Linked DNA regions of Homo sapiens: regions 1, 2 and 4 are each linked to region 3. The links are contacts of gene promoters, found by promoter capture Hi-C in blood cells and fetal thymus (Javierre and others, 2016). All regions are on one chromosome and are shown on one strand. Each heading gives the region's core, a stretch centred on a gene start or on the middle of the fragment in contact. The rest is flanking DNA. Distances are from core to core; before and after follow the strand shown.

Region 1 (2,700 bases), core at 2-2,501, 310 kb before region 3:
TAGACGTGTACCACCACACCTGACTAATTTTTGTATTTTTAGTAGAGACGGGATTTTGCCGTGTTGGTCAGGCTGGTCTCAAACTTGACCTTAAGTGATCTACCCACCTCAGCCTCCTAAAGTGCTGGGGTTACAGGCATCAGCCACCGTGCCTGGCCTCCATGGTAATCTTTTTTTTTTTTTTTTTTTGAGACGGAATCTTGCTCTGTCACCCAGGCTAGAGTGCAGTGGCACGATCTTGGCTCATTGCAACCTCCGCCTTTTGTGTTCAAGCGATTCTTCTGCCTCAGCCTCCCGAGTAGCTGGGACTACAGGTGTGCGCCACCATGCCTGGCTAATTTTTGTATTTTTAGTAGACACGGAGTTTCACCATATTGGCCAGGCTGGTCTCGAACTCCTGATGTCGTGATCTGCCTGCCTCGGCCTCTCAAAGTGCTAGGATTACAGGTTTGACTCCATGGTACTCTTATATCCTATATAAACGTATTACTAAAAGTATGAACTTTTTTTTTTTTTTTTTTTTTTTTACAGAGGCAGGATCTCACTATGTTGCTCAGGCTAGTTTTGAACTCCTGAGCTCAAGCAATCCTCATGCCTTGACCTCCCAAAGTGCTGGGATTATAGGCATGAGCCACTGCACTTGGCCCTGAACTTTTTTTTTTAATGGAAAAAGTGTTTTTTCTTAGGAAAGTAACATATGCTTACTATTTCAAATTTATAGGCTGAAATAGAAAAATTAGCAGTAACATAAAAATATACTCAGCCTTAATGTATGTTAAACTAACAGTGGTAATTGTTTTTTACCAAGAAAATGACCACAAATTTGAAGGATTCCCAAAACACAGTGCTGTTGGAGGTATGGCTAAATTGATGCAGTGGATGAGGCTTTAAATTGGTATAACCTCCTTGGCAGGTAATGGGCAATCAGAGTTTTAAATGTGTCTACCCTTAGGCCCAGGGAGTCATTTTCAGAAATAATATGGAAGTACTGGCACCTGTGCATGAAGATACACAATGATGTTCCTTGAAACATTATTTATAATAGTGAAGGTTTGAATGTCATAACTATACATTTATAGTACAGAGTACTATGTAACTGTTAAAAAGAATGATCTACGTGTGTATTTATTGCCATAGCAATATATTGTTACGTGGAAGGGAAAAAGTTCAGAATAAGTACATCTGTACTTATGGTGGGGTTATGGCTTGATAAACCCATTGTAAATTGAAAACATCCTAAGTCAAAAATACATTTAATACACTTAACCTATTCTTAGCCTAGACTACCTTAAATGTGTGTGGAATACTTACATTAGCCTGCAGTGGGCAAAATAATCTAACTTAAATTCTACTTTATAATAAAGTACTGGATATTATGTAATTTACAGAACACTGTACATTACACTGAAATTGTAATGGTTTCCCACTATCATAAAGGTGAAAAGCCCTACATGGAACCATTATAAGTCAGGACTGTTTGTATAGTATGACCCTTTTTTTTGGGTAAAAATTACCGAAACCCTGGCTGGGCGTGGTGACTCATGCCTGTAATCAGGCACATACCACATGTATGGCCAATTTTGTTCATTTTTTTTAGAGATAGGGTCTCACTGTGTTGCCCAGGGTGGTCTTGAACTTCTGGACTCAAATGATCCTCCTCCCTCGGCCTTTTAAAGTGCTAGCCTTACAGGTGTAAGCCACCATGTTCAGCCCCACAGTTTCTTTATCCGTTAACCTGTAGATAGACACTTGGGTTGCCCTCACCCTTGACTACTGTTGAATAGTACTTCTGTGAACGTGGGTATACAAATGTTTCTTTGAGACCCTGCTTTCAATTCTTTCAGGTATATACCCAGAGGTGGAATTGCTGGATCATGTGGTAATTCTATTTTTAATTTAATTTTTTTTTTGCGATGTTGTCTTGCTGTGTTTCCCAGCCTGATCTTGGACTCAAGATTCTCCTGCCTCAGACCCCGAGTAGCTGGGACTACAGGTGCGCACCACTGCACCCAGTTTTATTTTTAATTTTTGGAGGCATCTCCATACTGTTTTCTATTGCTGTTACGCCATTTTACATTTCCACTAGCAGTGCATAAGGGTTTTAATTTCTCCACATCCTTGCCAACCCTTTATTTATTTATATATTTTTGGATAATAGTCATCTTAATGAGTAGCAAATGCTTTCTCATTGTGGTTTTGATTTGCATTTCCCTAGCGATTGGTTATGTTGAGCACTTTACATGTATTTATTGGCCATTAGTATATCTTCTTTGTAGAAATGCTTGTTCAAGTTCTTTGCCCATTTTAAAATTGGGTTTGCTTTTTGTTGAGTTGTAGGAGCTCTTTATATATTTTGTTTTATTTTTTATTTGTTTATTTTTTTGAGGCAGAGTCTTTCTCTGTCGCTCAGGCTGGAGTGCAGTGGTGCGATCTTGGTTCACTGCAGTCTCCGCCTCCTGGGTTCAATTAATTCTCCCTGCCTCAGCTTCCCGAGTAGCTGGGATTACAGGTGCCCACCACCATTCCTGGCTAATTGTTGTATTTTTAGTAGAGATGGGATTTCACCATGTTGATCAGGCTGGTCTCGAACTGCTGACCTCAGGTGATATGCCCGCCTTGGCCTCCCAAAGTGCTGGGATTACAGGTGTGAGCCACCGTGCCTGGCCACTCTTTATATATTTTGGATATTCTGTGTTGCAT
Region 2 (2,700 bases), core at 23-2,522, 290 kb before region 3:
ATTCTCACAACAGAACTAGTGTTGCTTTGGTGACCGAATCCTTTCTTGCGGTAGTTTTCTAGAAAAGTTTTAGTTTCCTTGATGTGGCTATTTAAAAGACCAGGTTTCTGTACTTACGTGTCAGAAATCTGTCAGATACTAGGAAGATGAGTGCTTTATGTTTGAGAATAGAATTTTATGTCTTAGGCAAAGTGTAACTAAATATGGGCCTATGTGGTGAGACCCTTTTTGCCATTTAGAAAGGAGACTCTAGAATTCTCTTGGGAGACTGTTGTTTGTAATGTAGAAATGCTGCAGAAGAAATATGCATAGACTTTTCTGTTTTCTAGTATCTGTGATTTGGGGGTGACTTAGGAAATAGATCATTGATGCCAATACCCATTTTTACTATATTCCCCCTTTTTTCTACTATTTCCTCTTTAATCTGGGTCACAAACTCATTTTGCTGCCAGTTTAACTCGAGCTTCTTACTAACCCTTTCACTGTTCAGAAAATGGATTTGGCATGATGTGGTGGAGAAAACATTGTATTGGGAAGAGAGCAGCCTGGGGAAAGTCACTTACCTACTTGACCTCCCTTTGCTCTTCTCAGAAAAAAGAGATTTATGTTAGATTTTTAATTTTCTTACTTTCTTTTTTTTTTGGACAAAGAACTTTTGTTCAAGTAGAATTCTTAAGTGGTAACAGAAATAAATAAAAGAGATAAAGCAGGCCGGGCGCAGTGGCTCATGCTTGTAACCCTAGCACTTTGGGAGGCCGAGGCAGGCAGATCACGAGGTCAAGAGATGGAGAATATCCTGGCCAACTTGGTGAAACCGCGTCTCTACTAAAAATAAAAAAAAAAAAAACTGGGCGTGGTGGTGTGCGCCTGTAGTCCCAGCTACCTGGGAGGCTGAGATAGCAGAATTGCTTGAACCCAGAAGGCGGAGGTTGCAGTGAGCCGAGATCCCGCCACTGTACTCCAGCCTGGGTGACAGAGCAAGACTCCATCTCAAAAAAAAAAAAAAAAAAAAAGAAGAAGAGAGATAAGGCAAATATTTGAGTAGAAGCAGAAATGCAGCATGTTGCATGATTATCTCCTTGAGGCATCCCCATGGAGGACACTGAGAAACTTAATGGGCTTTTAAAAATTCCTGTTGGAAAACTGCTGGATTATTCCTGTTAACAGTGATATCTTTCTGTCTTAATTTTGAGGAAGTCAGTGTTGGAGCTGTGGTCTATTTACCTGGGTGAGATTCAAATTGTCTTGTCAGACCTTTAATCATCCTCCTCTCCATTCCACTCCTCCAGTTAACTTCGTCCCAGACTGGGGACCCATATGGGACTTTTAGTAGATGGTGTATCTTAAGTCTTGTAAGAAGTTTAGTGCACTGGCAGCACACCCAGATAAAGAAGGTAGGACTTTGTGCATTAATGGGCCAAATAAAACTTCAAAATCTTCAAATTCTGCCTTTTAATGTTGCAAATAAGAGAGAGGCTTACCATATTTTATAGACCAAGGAAATCTGTACTATCAATTCTTGTATCAGCTATGGAGCCACATACTTGAGTTGGCAAAAATTGGTCCTTTTATTTTCTGGCCTTTAAATAGTTGAATTAGTAAGCATGGGAGTTAACCAAGCTGAGGTTATATGTTCCATAGGAACTTAAGTGAGTAAAATCAGCATTTAAAAATACTATCTTTTTTTTTCTCTTGTTTTTTGTTTTTTGTTTTTTTTTGAAATGGAGTCTTGCTCTGCCACCCAGGCTGAAGTGCAGTGGTGTGATCTCAGCTCACTGCAACCTCCACCTCCCAGATTCAAGTGATTCTCCTGTCTCAGCCTCCCAAGTAGCTGGGATTACAGATGCATGCCACTGTGCCCTGCTAATTTTTGTATTTTTAGTAGAGACAGGATTTCACCATGTTGGCCAGGCCGGTCTCAAACTCCTGGCCTCAAGTAATCCACCTGCCTCCATCTCCCAAAGTGCTGGGATTACAGGCATGAGCCACCATGCCTGACCTGTCGTTTCTTAAAACAGCTTTTGTTCTGAGGGAGTGGTAATTTACAAAGGATGTGAAGTTTCCAGGAAATAGGGGGAAGGGAATTACATTATCTTCTTGTTCTCTGTCTGCCTTATTAGTTCTGTTTCATGCTTGCTTTGCATGAGAAGGTTGGCAAACCTTATTTTAACTGCTGAGACTTAAGCATCACTAAATCTGAATACCACATTCTTCAGCAGCACACTTGGTATCCATATCACTCTCCCTGCTACCAAATGACCAGATGTGACCACCTGGATGGGGCTTCTCTTTCTTTCCATGCAGGGAAAATCACAGTGAAATTGAACGGCGGCGACGGAACAAGATGACAGCCTACATCACAGAACTGTCAGATATGGTACCCACCTGTAGTGCCCTGGCTCGAAAACCAGACAAGCTAACCATCTTACGCATGGCAGTTTCTCACATGAAGTCCTTGCGGGGAACTGGCAACACATCCACTGATGGCTCCTATAAGCCGTCTTTCCTCACTGATCAGGTCTCTGGGACTTATAGTTCTGAGAGAGTCTGGAATCTGGGTGAATCTCTTGAAAGTTTTCGTTTTTTGGACAAGAATTCAGCTTTTCAGGAAGAAGTCAGACAATGGGAAAACGAATTTCAATCCTTGGCTATAACATTAATTAGCATTGGGACAATGAGAAGTAGAGAAGAGTTGTGAAA
Region 3 (2,700 bases), core at 98-2,597:
ATGGCCACTCCTTCCCCTGGCTGGGCCGGCCACTAAGGTCAGCAACTCCACCCTGACTGAACGGGGGAGGCCAGGATCTCCAGAGAAGGGCCCATGTTCCACCCAAGTCTTCAGGCTCTGCCTGACTCTTGTTACTCCAGCTGAGGGAAGAAGAAATGGGGTGATAGTCACTGCCTGCCCCTTCTCTGATGCCGACCCCTCTTCATGCCCTCTCTGCCTCTGCTTCTCTCTGCCACCGAGATCTCTTCTCGCAGCCCCTCTCCACGGGTCTACCCAGTACACATAATCCCATCCCGAGCTGGGTTTGGCTTTGGCAGTTCCCTGGAGAAGTGAGGGGTGGGGGTGACGTGAGCTCCCGGGGCCCGGGCCAGGCCTGGCTCCCTCTCTGGAAAAGTCCCACCCCACCCTCCCCTGCGCAGCCCGGCAGGGGCCCATGCCCCCTCCTCTGCAGAAACACACGCACATTTATGCTTCTCACCCCTTTCCATGTCCCTCATTTGGTGTCGTTCCCGGCCCAGGACGAGGAAAGGAGAGGTCAGAGGTGGTCACTCTGGTGCCAGAGTAGACCCTGGTCTGGACAAACGCGGGCTCCTCCTGGCCACACCTCTCCACACTGCCCAGTGAAGACCAAGGAACAGAGACCTGCGCAGGGCTCACCCCTTCACCCCCAGGTCTCCCTGCTGGAGAGTGGTTGGACCCTGTGTTTCTGGGCCTAGCCATGGAGAATCCCTGTCCTGAGTCCGAATTCCCGGGCCCTCAGAGCCCTCCACTCCTGGGTCTGGCAGGCCACCCCAACAGGTGTCTTTCTTTTTTGTCAACCTCTTCTGCCATCGGGCTGAGCTGGATCAAGGGCACCCACCTGCGTCCCTCGCGGCGACCCTGTCCTCCAAGTTCAGGAGTGCAGTGGGGGACACACCGTCCGAGAGCACCCTCCTAGAGAGAGGGCAGGAGGCACCGGCCGCGCGGGGAGGTCATGGGTCTGTTTTCCAACTTTACTATGTGACTTAGGAGGAATTTTGGTTCACTCCCCGCCCGGGTGATGGGGCCAGAGTTCCACGGGATCAGACTCCCTCCCCAGGAATTCGACCCCAGGGGCTGGAAGATTGTCCGAGGCCACCGGAGCTGGGTCCGGGGTCGTGGCGGGGTCGCGACCGCACAGCGCAGGGAGAGGGGACGACGCGGGCGCGCGGGGCGGGCGGTCTAACGGGACCCGGGAGAGGGGCGGCCGGGGCCGGGGTCCCGGGGAGGTCTCTACCTGCTCTGCGAGCCCCCGGTGGCCCGTTAACCCTTCTGCGCCCAGGCGCTCTCTCCAGGCAACCTCGCTCCGCGGCGGCCACTGGGGCCCCTGAGCCGCGCTCCGGTCACGGCCGCCTCGGCCGCAACTCCGCCCTCGCGCCCGCCCCCGCCCAGCCCCGCCCGCCACGCGCCCCAGCCCGCGCCCCTCGGCGGCCCCGGGGTGGGGCCGGTCTGCCTCGCAGCCCCACTCGCCAGGACCACCCACCCCGGGCTGCGCGCCGGGCGCCCCCCGACGGCTGCGTGAGCTGAAGCCCGGGCTGGCCCAGCCGGGGTCGGAGGCTGCAGTCGCTCCCGGGCGCTGTCCTCGTGCCCGGCCGAGACTAGGGACTTAAGCAGCCCGGGCTGGCCCAGCCGGGGTCAGAGGCTGCAGTCGCTCCCGGGCGCTGTCCTCGTGCCCGGCTGAGACTAGGGACTTAAGCAACCCGGGCCTCCGAGCCGCTCGGGTGAGCGGTGCGAACACGGCGCGGCGCGGCGCGGCACAGGCGGGGCAGCCTCCAGGGGCGCCTGGAGCGAGGCGGCCTGGGAGAGCCGCTGGTCCGGGAGGGAAGCGCCCTGGACGGAGGTACCCGCGGCCCCCGATCCGCGTGGGTCCAGGCTCTCCCCTCCACGCAGCCTCCCCTGCAAACTCAGTCACTCCTGCCTCTCCCGTGTTGGGCAGTGGTGGTTCAGATTGCTGGGACTTCTATGAGCTTCGGTTTTTTTCCTCAGTAAGGTTTTACACTCGGGACTCAGCGAAAGGACAGCGTGCTGACTTCTGAGTCAGACTGATCTGGATTTGAACCTCAGCTCCAGCTCTTGCCAGCTATGTGGTCTTCGACGAATACTTCCACCCCTGTGTGGTGCAGTTTGCTCATCTGCAAAATGGGACTAATCTAATATATATGATGGGCTTGGATATGTCTCTTTATGCATTTATACATGGAAGAATGCACCCCAAACTCAGTAGTATTGGTGACATCTGGGGAGGGATGCAGGGTTGGGGGAGGACTGAAAAAGGCTTTTGCTTTTTACTCTGCGTTATGTTTATTATTATTATATTATTATTTATTTATTTTTTTTGAGACGGAGTCTCACTCTGTCGTCCAGGCTGGAGTGCAGTGGTGCTATCTTGGCTCACTGCAAGCTCCGCCTCCCAGGTTCACGCCATTCTCCTGCCCTAGCCTCCTGAGTAGCTGGGACTACAGGCGTCTGCCACCACGCCCGGCTAATTTTTTGTATTTTTAGTAGAGACGGGGTTTCATCGTGTTAGCCAGAATGGTCTCGATCTCCTGACCTCGTGATCCGTCCGCCTCGGCCTCCCAAAGTGCTGGGATTACAGGCGTGAGCCACCGCACCCAGCTATGTAATGTTATTTTTGTGAATTTTTTTAACCACAAGAGCAATCCATCTATTAGTTTTATCTTT
Region 4 (2,700 bases), core at 35-2,534, 270 kb before region 3:
CAGTGAGCAGAGATCGTGCCACTGCACTCCAGCCTGGGCGACAGAGGGAGACTCCGTCTCAAAAAAAAAAAAAAAAGCTTAAGTCTCTGAAAGGAAGCATGAGAAATATGCTTCCATGTTTAATCACTTAGTTTTTACTCTCATTTTGTTTTAATATTGAAAAATATTGGTGCCTCAAGGACAATGACAAGAGTTTTAGGGTTATAGAAATTGGAAAATTTTTATTTATTTTTGTAATGAAAATTTTCTATGAGTTCCACTGATGGCATGAAAACTTTTTCAGGTAGTGAAATTAAAAGGCCAAGTGCTGTCTGTCATGTTCCGGTTCCGGTCTAAGAACCAAGAATGGCTCTGGATGAGAACCAGCTCCTTTACTTTCCAGAACCCTTACTCAGATGAAATTGAGTACATCATCTGTACCAACACCAATGTGAAGTATGTATTATACAGGAGTGTGAAAAAACTGTTTTTCCTCTGTTCTCACAACAGAAAACACTTCTGATGCCCTATGTGGGGGGTAAACAATCAAGCAACAACACAAAAATTTAGCCGGGCGTGGTGGCATGTGCCTGTAGTCCCAGCTACTCTGGAGGCTGAGACAGGAGAATCACTTGAACCTGAGAGGTGGAGGTTGCAGTGAGCTGGGATCATGCCACTGCACTCCAGCCTGGGCTACAGAGCGAGACTCCATTTCAAAAAAAGAAAAAGAAAAAAGAAATCAAGCAATCAGTAGTGGACACCAGCTGGGTGTCCTTCCATTCAATTCAGTTCACTATCTACTTGGAGATAGCATCAGATCCCCCAATTTGTGTATGCAGTACCACAAGACTGCTCCCACTTCTGATGCCAGTTGCAAGCCCCAGGTTGTTTTACCTGTGCATCTGACTGACCAGCTGTCTCCCATGACCCCCTACTTGGGTTCAGTCAATTTGCTTGAATGGCTCAGGGAACATTTACCTATGTTTACCAGTTTATTATAAAGGATATTACAAAGGATACTTTGTACATCAGATGAAGAGATAGATAGGGCAAGGTAAGGAGGAAGGAGTGCAGAGCTTTCAGACCCTTTCTGGGTGGGCTACCCTCCGGGGATCTCCATGTGTTTACCTATCAAGAAGCTCCTCAAACCCAGTCCTTTTGGGTTTTAATGGAAATTTCATTATGTAGCCATGAGTGATTAAATCATTGGCCATTGGTAATCAACTTAACCTTAGGTACCGGCTCCCCTCCATGAGGTTGAGGGTTAGGGCTAAAAGTCCCAGCCCTCTAATTTTACCTTGATCTTTCCAGAGATGAGCCCCCATCTTGAAGCTACCTAGGGGTTGCCAGCCCTCAGTCAACTCATTAGCAGACAAAAAGACACTTATCACACTGAAGATTCCAAAGATTTTAATTGGTAAAAATCCAGGTCCACTTATACATGGATTTTTTTCAGTAAATATATTAGAAAATTCTTTTGATATTTGTGACAATTTGAAAAACCCAAAAATAAGCTACATAGCCTGGATATATTGAAAAAATTAGAAAAAGTTAGCCATGTCATACATGAATGTATTAAATATATATAAATTCTAGTCTATTTTATCATTTACTACCATACAACATATACAAATCTATTATAAAAAGTAAAAATGCTGGACAGGTGCAGTGGCTCACACCTGTAATCCCATCACTTTATCACTTTGGGATACCAAGTTGGGATACCAAGTTGAGCAGATCACTTGAGGTCAGGAGTTCGAGACCAGCCTGGCCAACATGGTGAAACCCTGTCTCTACTGAAAAAAAAAAAAAAAAAAAAAAGAAAATACAAAAATTAGCTGGGCATGGTGGCACACGCCTATAGTCCCAGCTACTTGGGAGGTTAAGGTATGAGAATCACTTGAACCTGGGAGGTGGAGGTTGCAGTGAGCTGAGATCGCACCACTGCACTCCAGCCTGGGTGACAGAGGGAGACTCCATCTCAAAAAAAATAAAAATAAAAATGTATCACAACGTATACATACACACCGTTTGTACAATGGCACCATTTGTAGTTGAGAGAAATGTAAACAAATGTAAAGATGCAGTTTTAAATCATAACCGCGTAAAGTTAACTATAGTATATACTGTACTGTTGTAATAATTTGGTAGCCACCTATTGCTCAATTGTTGCCAGTTTGCTTAAAATGCTGTGTGATGCTAATCATCTCTTCATGAGCAATTCACTCCAGTAAATTGCATATTGCAGTAAACAGTGAAATCTCATGGTTCTTGCATATTTTTCATCGTGTTGAGTGCAATACTGAAACCTTGAATAACATTTGGGAACAGTATGAAGTGCCACTAGTGATGCTGGAAGTCTTCCCAAGAAGCAGGGAAAAGTCATGACATTATAAGAAAAAGGTGAATTGCTTGATATGTACTATAGAATGAAGTCTGCAGCTGTGGTTGCTTGCCACTTCATATAGATGACTCATCTTGTAAGTCATCTTGTAAGATGATATAAGCTTATGATAACGATAAATACAGTACAGTGCTGTAAATGCATTTTCTCTTCCTTATGATTTTCTTAATAACATTTTCTCTTTAGCTTTATTGTAAGAATACAGTACATAATACGTACAACATACAAAACGTGTTCAACTGCTTATGTTATTGGTAAGGCTTCTGGCCAACAGTAGGCTATTAGTAGTAACGTTTTGGGAGAGTCAGAAGTTTACA

Evidence for each region. Contacts are between HindIII fragments. The CHiCAGO score rates a contact against its expected background, and 5 or more counts as called.
Region 1: a contact is called between a fragment that was not itself captured here and the fragment with the promoter of ADAMTSL4 in region 3, in 1 of 17 cell types (neutrophils). The highest score is 5.0, in neutrophils.
Region 2: a contact is called between a fragment that was not itself captured here and the fragment with the promoter of ADAMTSL4 in region 3, in 2 of 17 cell types (neutrophils and erythroblasts). The highest score is 7.4, in neutrophils.
Region 4: a contact is called between a fragment that was not itself captured here and the fragment with the promoter of ADAMTSL4 in region 3, in 4 of 17 cell types (erythroblasts, endothelial precursors, neutrophils and 1 more). The highest score is 9.4, in erythroblasts.

Annotation. Positions count from the first base shown.
Region 1 is chr1:150,860,540-150,863,239 of GRCh38, reverse strand. The region is part of intron 1 of ARNT (aryl hydrocarbon receptor nuclear translocator); the gene reads left to right. Among named protein-coding and RNA genes, the nearest start is that of ARNT, 15 kb to the left of the region's middle. The HindIII fragment of the contact is 5,924 bases long and covers 1-2,700 here.
Region 2 is chr1:150,839,259-150,841,958 of GRCh38, reverse strand. It overlaps ARNT (aryl hydrocarbon receptor nuclear translocator), which reads left to right. Exons shown (of 22, transcript NM_001668.4): 6 at 2,305-2,518. Among named protein-coding and RNA genes, the nearest start is that of CTSK, 32 kb to the right of the region's middle. The HindIII fragment of the contact is 6,848 bases long and covers 1-2,700 here.
Region 3 is chr1:150,548,055-150,550,754 of GRCh38, reverse strand. ADAMTSL4 (ADAMTS like 4) reads right to left here and starts at 1,347. Exons shown (of 19, transcript NM_019032.6): 1 at 1,256-1,347; 2 at 860-933. LOC124904417 reads right to left here and starts at 465. Exons shown (of 1, transcript XM_047438226.1): 1 at 1-465. The coding sequence starts at 465. It overlaps ADAMTSL4-AS2 (ADAMTSL4 antisense RNA 2), which reads left to right. Exons shown (of 6, transcript NR_187269.1): 6 at 2,005-2,191. RefSeq lists an enhancer at 1-141 and silencers at 1,477-1,616, 1,787-1,936, 1,868-2,162. The HindIII fragment of the contact is 42,411 bases long and covers 1-2,700 here.
Region 4 is chr1:150,820,929-150,823,628 of GRCh38, reverse strand. ARNT (aryl hydrocarbon receptor nuclear translocator) reads left to right here. Exons shown (of 22, transcript NM_001668.4): 14 at 284-435. Among named protein-coding and RNA genes, the nearest start is that of CTSK, 14 kb to the right of the region's middle. The HindIII fragment of the contact is 2,409 bases long and covers 80-2,488 here.